Linked DNA regions of Homo sapiens: region 1 is linked to region 2. The links are contacts of gene promoters, found by promoter capture Hi-C in blood cells and fetal thymus (Javierre and others, 2016). All regions are on one chromosome and are shown on one strand. The core of a region is centred on a gene start or on the middle of the fragment in contact, and the rest is flanking DNA. Distances in the headings are between cores, read along the strand shown.

Region 1 (4,055 bases), core at 167-2,666, 110 kb after region 2:
CCTGAACATAAATTAAATCGTCATTATTTTCTCTCTTTGTCAATTTGTGAGAATAAATAACATCGTTTGGAAGACAGTGCTAAGACAACAATCCATCAGCCACTGACAAACTGTAGGAAGTGCAACGATCAGGAGGAGGTGGGAGGAGGAATCTAATATTTATTGAGCACCTATCATGAACTAAACCAATTTTTGGTGTTTGACCCATGTTTTAATTAGTGAAGGTACCTGGGCCAGGGCCTGACATAAAATTGACGCTTACTAAATGTACTAAATGACATTATTTTTGTCATCGTCATCCAATTCAATTCTCAGAAAAACACTAGAGTTAGCATTATCTCCATTTTATGGATGAGGTTCAGAGAGGTTATGTAACTTCTCTAATGTCCCCATAGCTAGGACATAGCAGACATGGTATTAAAACCCAGTAATGTTGTCCATGCATTTACCAAGGGTCTCTTGCTATCCAACTTACTCCACAGAACAGAAATGGCTGCACCTTCTGCCTCACGTGGGCCAGACACCCATCACCAGGGACCAGATGAGATCTGTGATGCTCCAAGGTCTGCTCCCATTGTGCAGTCAGAAGCAGACCAGGCAAAGGGCACCTCTAGAGTGAACCACTCTGGTCTGAGGGAAAGCAGTTAAGCCCAGAAAGAACACTAAGGTGACTGGTGGGATCTGATTACCTGGCTTTTATATAAAACTCCTAACCAATTTCCCTGTATCTATTATCATCCTCAACCCACCCTCCACACATTCCTGCTTAAAATCTGTTACTTGTCTCCAATTATCCTCAAAGATAAAATCCAATTGCCATTTAAGCTCGTCACGTGCTAGCCTTCACCTGTTCTCCAGCTTCACCCCCATTCCCCAAATACCCACCATGCTTCAGCTCATCTGAATTATGTACAGTTCCCCAAATGCACCATGCTTTCCAGCCGCTCCACCTCCTTCTAACTCCTGCCTCTTTTTTTTTCTTGGAGATGGAGTCTTGCTCTGTCGCCCAGGCTGGAGTGCAGTGGCATGATCTCAGCTCATTGCAACCTCCGCCTTCCAGGTTCAAGCAATTCTCTCGTCTCAGCCTCCCAAGTAGCTGGGACTACGGGTGCCTGCCACCACGCCGGGCTAATTTTTGTATTTGTAATAGAGATGGGGTTTCACCATATTGGTCAGGCTGGTCTTGAACTCCTGACCTCAGGTGATCCACCCACCTAGGCCTCCCAAAGTGCTGGGATTACAGATATGAGCCACCGCACCCGGCCAACCTGCCTCTTCTTAAGTCTCAGCTCAAGTATCACTTTTTTCAGAAAGCTTTCCCTGACCTCTCAGATACCACAGACTCTGATCTCCCTGAGGGCTTCCTATGTCACACAATCAGTTCAACAATAATTTGAGGCACTGTACCCAGTTATGAGGCTACAACAAGCCCCAGCTTGCAGGCTGGTAGAAACAAAGCTATGACGGGGTACATAGGGTGCTAACAGAGTATTAGCCCAACCTGAACCCCAAGCTTCAGAGGGTCTCCTGAAGGAGGAAAAGAAGCAAAGAGGACAGTGAGCTCAAAGGAGCTAAGGCCTGAAATATGCTTTATGTGGAGAGTCACAATAGTTCAGAATTATTTGACTCTTAGAGTAGCAGGTGCTCAACAAATATTTGTTTGAATCAGTTAATCATTTGTCACATTTTATCAGGCCAATAACTAAGATGACTGCAAAAGTTAATTGCGGGGGGACAAACAAGAACAAGTATTTTTCTTGAGGTCAAGATAATTTCTACTTAAGTAACCTTAGCTTTTTCTTGCCCGTAGAAGTTGTCTCTGATGCAAAACTGATTAGTACTGTTGAGTACTTTTCATGCACATTACTCACAGTCTGGTCTTCCAACAAAAGAGGATTCCACAGCATAAACAGTAATAGTCACTTTTCAGAACACCTACTTTGTATCAAGAGCTATGCTAGGTTCTTTAAACACATTTTATCTAATGCTAATCTGGCAGGGAGATGTTTTTGTATTTATTTTCCTCATTGAAAACAGAGACACAAAACGGTGAAATAACTTGTTCATGGTTACCCAAACAGTAAATCATGAATATGGAATCCAGATATGACTCCCAAGCCAATGCTCTTTCCACTCTACCACACTGCTGCCTAAATAAATGCACTGCTGAGGCTTAAATGACTTCCCTAAAACTTTCAGGATGTACCTGAGTCAAACCACTCCCTCCACCACATCCAATCCATGAATCTCTTGTGTAATAAACTATACTAAGCGGCTGTCTACTAAAGTGTGCTTCCCAGATCAGTAGCATCGGCAACACCTGGGAGCCTCCTGCAAACTCCTGGGCTCCTCCCCAGCCTACTGAATCAGAGCCTATATCTTAACAAGCTCTCCTGGTGATTCATATGCACATGAAAGCATGAGAAGCACTGACCCAGCCCGCTGTTGCCATACCTGGCTGCACGTCAAGGTCACAAGGGAAGTTTTTCATAAGCAGACGTCATCCTAAATCTACCAGTTGTCTCCAGAGGGTAGGAACTCAGAAAGATTTATCTTCCCAAGCTTTCCCATATGATTCTTGTAAAGCTGATTTGAGTCTTTTCCCAGCGAAACAGTCCAGTTCCCTTAACCAAGGGGTTCCCAGCCCCCTTGGTTAACAACCAGAATCACCTGGAAAGCTTTTCAAAAAATACTAATGTCTAGGCCCACCATAGAGCAGTCAGAATTTCTGAGAGTGGGACCAAGGTATATCAGTATTCCTCAAGTGCTCCTAGTAACATGCAGAGATGTGAGCCAAGGTTAACTATTCCTTACATAAAATAGTTAAAAGTATTACTGTTTTTCTTTTTCTTTTCTTTTTTTTTTTTTTTAAGACAGAGTTTCACTCTTGTCTCCCAGGCTGGAGTGCAGTGGCATGATCTCGGCTCACTGCAACCTCCGCCTCCCGGGTTCAAGCAATTCTCCTGCCTCAGCCTCCCGAGAAGCTGGGATTACAGGCGCCAGCCACCATGCCCACCTAATTTCTGTATTTTTAGTAGAGATGGGGTTTCACCATGTTAGCCAGGCTGGTCTCGAACTCCTGACTTTGTGAACCACCCACCTCGGCCTCCCAAAGTGCTGGGATTACAGGCGTGAGCCACTGCGCCCGGCCAAAATTGTTACTGCTTTTCTAAATCTGAATCCATGACACCTAGAACCTGATGCTCCCTAGACGTAATGAAGACATACAGCTTCTTTATTCAAAATGCTGTATTTCGCCGGGCACAGTGGCTCATGCCTGTAATCCCAGTACTTTGGGAGGCCAAGGTGGGCGGATCACTTGAGGTCAGGAGTTCAATACCAGCCTGGCCAACATGGTGAAACCCTGTCTCTACTAAAAATACAAAAATTAGCCGGGTGTGGTGGTGTACACTTGTAATCCCAGATACTTGGGAGGCTGAGGCAGGAGAATCACTTGAGCCTGGGAGGTGGAGGTTGCAGTGAGTCGAGATTGCGCCAGTGCACTCCAGCCTGGGCGACAGAATGAGACTCCATCTCAAAAACAAACAAAAACAAAATGCTGTATTTCTCTTTCTCCTCTTTCCTTCCTTCTTTGGCCAATAGATCACACTGCTGACTTGCACTAAGAGGTCATTCAAAACCACTAAGTATTATTTTTCATTCTGAAACAATCTTAGACTTAGCAAAAAGGCAGCAAAAATGGTAGAGTTCACCATTACCCAGGTAGCCCAAATTTTTACATCTTACATAAGCACAGTACAATGATCAAAACAGGAAGCTAATGTTATGGGATCCTTGAGTGTCACTTTGCTAGCTGGAAACCTGGCCAGTGGTGCCTTTGCCTGAGTTTTGCTTGGGCCCACTGGGCCCACTCAGTCTGGCAAGCTCGCACTGCCGGCTTGGATCCCGTGCCTGCTAAGGGCAAGTGGAGTGGCAAGGGGTGTGTGATCAAGTGAACATGGGGTCCAGCCACTGTGCACAGCCAGAAACACTGACTGTGGTGGGGTGGGCAGCTCCAGGGACTGGCACAGGTGCTGGCTCCCTGCGATGCTGCA
Region 2 (4,210 bases), core at 759-3,258:
TGCCATATTAATGCATGATGCTGTCTATCCAGAATGATATTTCATACCTGGTAAACGTATACCTATTCAAGAACCAGTTCAAAGATCAGCAGCTGAAATACCACTAATTCTGTAAAATCTTTTCTAATTCCCCAGTGTAGATTTTATTATTTCCTCCTTAGTGCTCCAAAGCACTTTGCAAATATCTCTGTTATACAGTACTTATCAAACTGTATTATAATTATCTATTTTATTCATCATTTTATTTCCTACTGTGTACGGAAGCTTCCAAAAACTAGATGACAAGAATATTCTTTGTATCTCCCAGTTGTTCCAAAATAATGCTTGGCACACTGCTTGCCTTCAGTAAGCGTTGAGGAGTAACTAGGTTGTACCTCCCACCTTATTGTGAGCATCTGTGTGCCGGATGACATTCCTCAGGAGGACCTTCCCCAGTGGAATCCGGGACATTCTTCAATCTGAAATGAATCAACAAATAACGTTTAGTAATAATTTCTGTTATTACTTTATCTTTTCTTGAAGTTTTATAAAGAAGCATATGAGGTACAGGAAAGATCACTGAACTAGAAGTCAGAGATTCTAAAGAATAGTTTTCCCTTTACCATTAAAAGAGGGAAATGCCTAAACACACTAATGTGAGATGAAAGGAGATAATGTACATTAAAGTTCTTTGAAAATGCACAAGACTACATAAAATTAAGTGCTTTCATGAGCACCATTTTATTTAATCCTCATAACTACTTTTTATATGAGGCAAGTATCTCCATCCCTATTTTGTAGATGAAGTTCCCTTAAAGCTGTAACGTCCCAAGCCACATAGTCCCAGGCAAATGATGTATGTCACTGTCTAAATTAAAAATCAAACCTCCAATCCCAATATAGTTTGCACTGAAGCAAATACGTAGATTTGAGAGTGTCAGGAACCACGGGTGTCAACAGTAACAGAAACTGATTACTCAAAACATCAAATGCAAAGATGTCCTAAATTTCTCCATTTGGGGGCATTTTATTTCCTACTTGCTACGGAAGCTTCCAAAAACTAGATGACAAGAATATTTTCGTGTGTAGCTAGCAGGAGCTTTGTGCAACCACCCCAACGCTCACTCACCCCTTGATCCTGAGGAAATCAGGCATCTTGCTAGTGAGACGAAGAACCACTCCATTACAAGATCTCCTCCGACCCAGGAAGCCAAGGAGTCAGGGCTCAAAGGCAGCTCTGCAGCTTCACCCGAGTCCTTCGTGAAAACGCAGCCTTCCCACTGGTTACTCTGCCCTCACCTGTGGCCCAGGCCACTGCCGCGTTTCCCCCAGCCCAGACCGACAGGCAGATCTCTCTCCCGGACTGAGGCCGGAGGCTGAGCCGGGGCGGAATTCGGACAGCCCGGTTGACCTGGGCATTCCCCGCTCACGCTCCTCTAGGACGAACCCCGGGGGTAAGTTTCACTCCCCAGAAAGGCTGGGAACGCTTTGGATGGCTACGGCCTTCGGTTGGGCCCCAGAAAGTATCTAGGGAGCCTGAAGCGGGGGTTGAGGTTTCCAAGTGGAAGACAGAGGAAATATCCCCATCTTTGTCACCGGGATCCCTGTTCCCCAGCGGCCTCGGAGCTCCCGGTAACCTTCCCTCCAAACGCCCTCCCCACACAAATACACACAAACACACCCATACCGTGCGCCGCAGCCTCGCGTGGCGGGGGGTAGGGGGGAAGAAGTGGTTTGGGAGAAAAAGGAGGAGACTTCCTTTTCAGGCCGGAAGTCGTGCTCCTGAGAAATCGTCCCACCAACAGGCAGCCCAGAGACTCCCACAAGGGAGGGTTTTCAGGACACTCCAGAGGTTGACGGGTGCAGAAGGAAGGCGGGCGCTTTCCTGGAAGAGAAGTGGGTCAGGCCCAACTGAAAAGCAAGCCTGGCACCAGAAGGGGGACATTCCGGAACTAGATATGAAGAGACTTTTCTCCCTGAAGTTCCCCGGACCCAATTAGATGTTGTACCCAGGCTGGTTACCCTGGTAACAGGCGTCGCGGTTTGTCAAGGAACTGAGAGAAGAGGTGGGTTTGCCAACCTATAGAATGATTACCCGTTAGAACTGAGAGAAGAGGTGGGTTTGCAGACCTATGGAATGATTATCCGTTAGTTAAGTTTCCCGTTTAGCATAACCCTTACACAGTAATTGAAGAATCTAAACCTCTTTTCCTCATTCTAAAGATGCTGTGGGACACCTCTCCAATGGGAGAAGAGGCTAAGGAGATTTATCTGAAGACGTAGAGAAGTGTCCCAGCCTCTCTATTAGCTTACTTAATCTCGCAATAATCCTATGGTAGAGGTATTATCGTCTTCATTTTGAACAGAACATTAATTGCTCAAGGTCACAGAGCTAGTGAGAGATAGAACTAAGACCGGAATCTAGGCATTCTGGCTCACAAGTCCATGCTTTGAAATACTAAACTATACTGAGGATTAAGGAAGTCTTATGTGGCCCTCACCCCACACCACACCTCTGGCAATTTCAGAACTGGGGAGCCACCAGTCAGGTGTTGGAACAAGAAGATCAGGAAACCCAGACTTAAAATGATTACTCTGACTTGTCAGGGTCCAAATAGAAGTAAGGCCTTATCTGAGAGGACAATGTGAGAATTTAGGAAGAGGTACTAGATAATTAAAGAATAAGGAAAACATAAAGTGGTGCTGATCCACAACCTTTTAGACACAAATGCTGTCCTAACTTCACCAAAACAATTCCTGACCCATTCCACCTCCCCAAAGCAGAAATGAATCAATAATTACACAGACAGTTTTCTTCCTGAAGTCGTGTTTTTCCACAGGCTTAAGAAAATTATTCACCACTCATAAGTCATGGAGACATCCTCAAAAGGTCTGCTTACCCAAGTTACTCAGTTTTGGAACCTCCTAGATGATCTAGCTCAGAGTGACCCTGAGGGCTATGAGAAGTTTATTCAGCAGCAGCTGAAAGAAGGGAAACAGCTCTGTGCTGCCCCAGAACCACAGCTTTGTCTACAGACCAGGATTCTGGTATGTCGAGTTGGTGCCAGGGATGGGGAGGTCTTGAATGAAATGATCCCAGAATAACCAGAGAATACTTTACACTTAGGTATTGCTAATTTTTTTTGTTTTTTTTTTGTTTTGTTTTGTTTTGTTTTGTTTTTTGAGACAGAGTCTTACTTTGTCACCAGGCTGGAGTGCAATGGTGTGGTCTTGGCTCGCTGCAACCTCTGCCTCCCGGGTTTAAGCGATTCTCCTGCCTCAGCCTCCCAAGTAGCTGGGATTACAGGTGTGTACTACCATGCCCGGCTAATTTTTGTATTATTAGTAGAGGCGGGGTTTCACCATGTTGGCCAGGCTGGTCTTGAACTCCTGACTTCAGGTGATCCACCTGACTCAGCCTCCCAAAGTGCTGGGATTACAGGCATGAGCCACTGCGCCTGGCAGACTTTTTTTTTTTTTTTTTTTTTTTTTTTTTGAGATAGGGTCTTGCTGGCTCTGTCGCTCAAGCTGGAGTGCAGTGGCACAATCACAGCTCACAATCACAGCTCATTGCAGCCCAAGCGATCCTCCCACCTCAGCCTCCCAAGTAGCTGGGATCACAGGTGGGCATCACCACACCCGGCTAATTTTTAAATGATTTTTGTAGAGACAGGGTCTCCCTATGTTTCACAGGCTAATCTCGAACTCCTAGGCCTCAAGCAACCCTCCTACCTCAGCCTCTCAAAGTACTAGGGTAACATACGTGAGCCACCACCCCAGTCTGGATTCCTAATTAAAAGCCAGCAGCCTTGGGGAAATCAAATAACAACAGTATAATCAAACGCAGTTTTAATACATGAAATGACTTACTTGGAGCCTAAAATTCTTTCATTCCTGTGGTGAGTGGCTTTTAGGATATTATTTTTTAAATGTTTTTGTTTTTGTTTTTTTTGAGATGGAGTTTCACTCTCGTCACCCGGGCAGGAGTGCAATGGCACAATCTTGGCTCACTGCAACCTCCGCCTCCTGGGTTCAAGCGATTCTCCTGCCTCAGCCTCCCGAGTAGCTGGGATTACAGGTATCCACCACCACACCTGGCTAATTTTTGTATTTTTAGTAGAAACGGAGTTTCACCATGTTGGCCAGGCTGGTCTCAAATTCCTGACCTCAGGTGATCCGGCCGCCTTGGACCCCCAAAGTGCTCGGATTACAGGCGGGAGCCACCATGCCT

What was found. Contacts are between HindIII fragments. The CHiCAGO score rates a contact against its expected background, and 5 or more counts as called.
Region 1: a fragment that was not itself captured here is called in contact with the fragment with the promoter of PIH1D2 in region 2 in 1 of 17 cell types (erythroblasts); the score reaches 5.1 in erythroblasts.

What each region holds. Positions count from the first base shown.
Region 1 is chr11:111,959,410-111,963,464 of GRCh38, reverse strand. All of the region lies in intron 1 of DIXDC1 (DIX domain containing 1), which reads right to left. Among named protein-coding and RNA genes, the nearest start is that of DIXDC1, 24 kb to the right of the region's middle. The HindIII fragment of the contact is 199 bases long and covers 1,317-1,515 here.
Region 2 is chr11:112,071,815-112,076,024 of GRCh38, reverse strand. It overlaps PIH1D2 (PIH1 domain containing 2), which reads left to right and starts at 2,008. Exons shown (of 6, transcript NM_138789.4): 1 at 2,008-2,045; 2 at 2,820-3,027. The coding sequence starts at 2,851. It overlaps NKAPD1 (NKAP domain containing 1), which reads right to left and starts at 1,726. Exons shown (of 6, transcript NM_018195.4): 1 at 1,109-1,726; 2 at 382-458. The coding sequence starts at 450. RefSeq lists enhancers at 1,234-1,283, 1,344-1,463, 1,874-1,923. The HindIII fragment of the contact is 10,336 bases long and covers 1,032-4,210 here.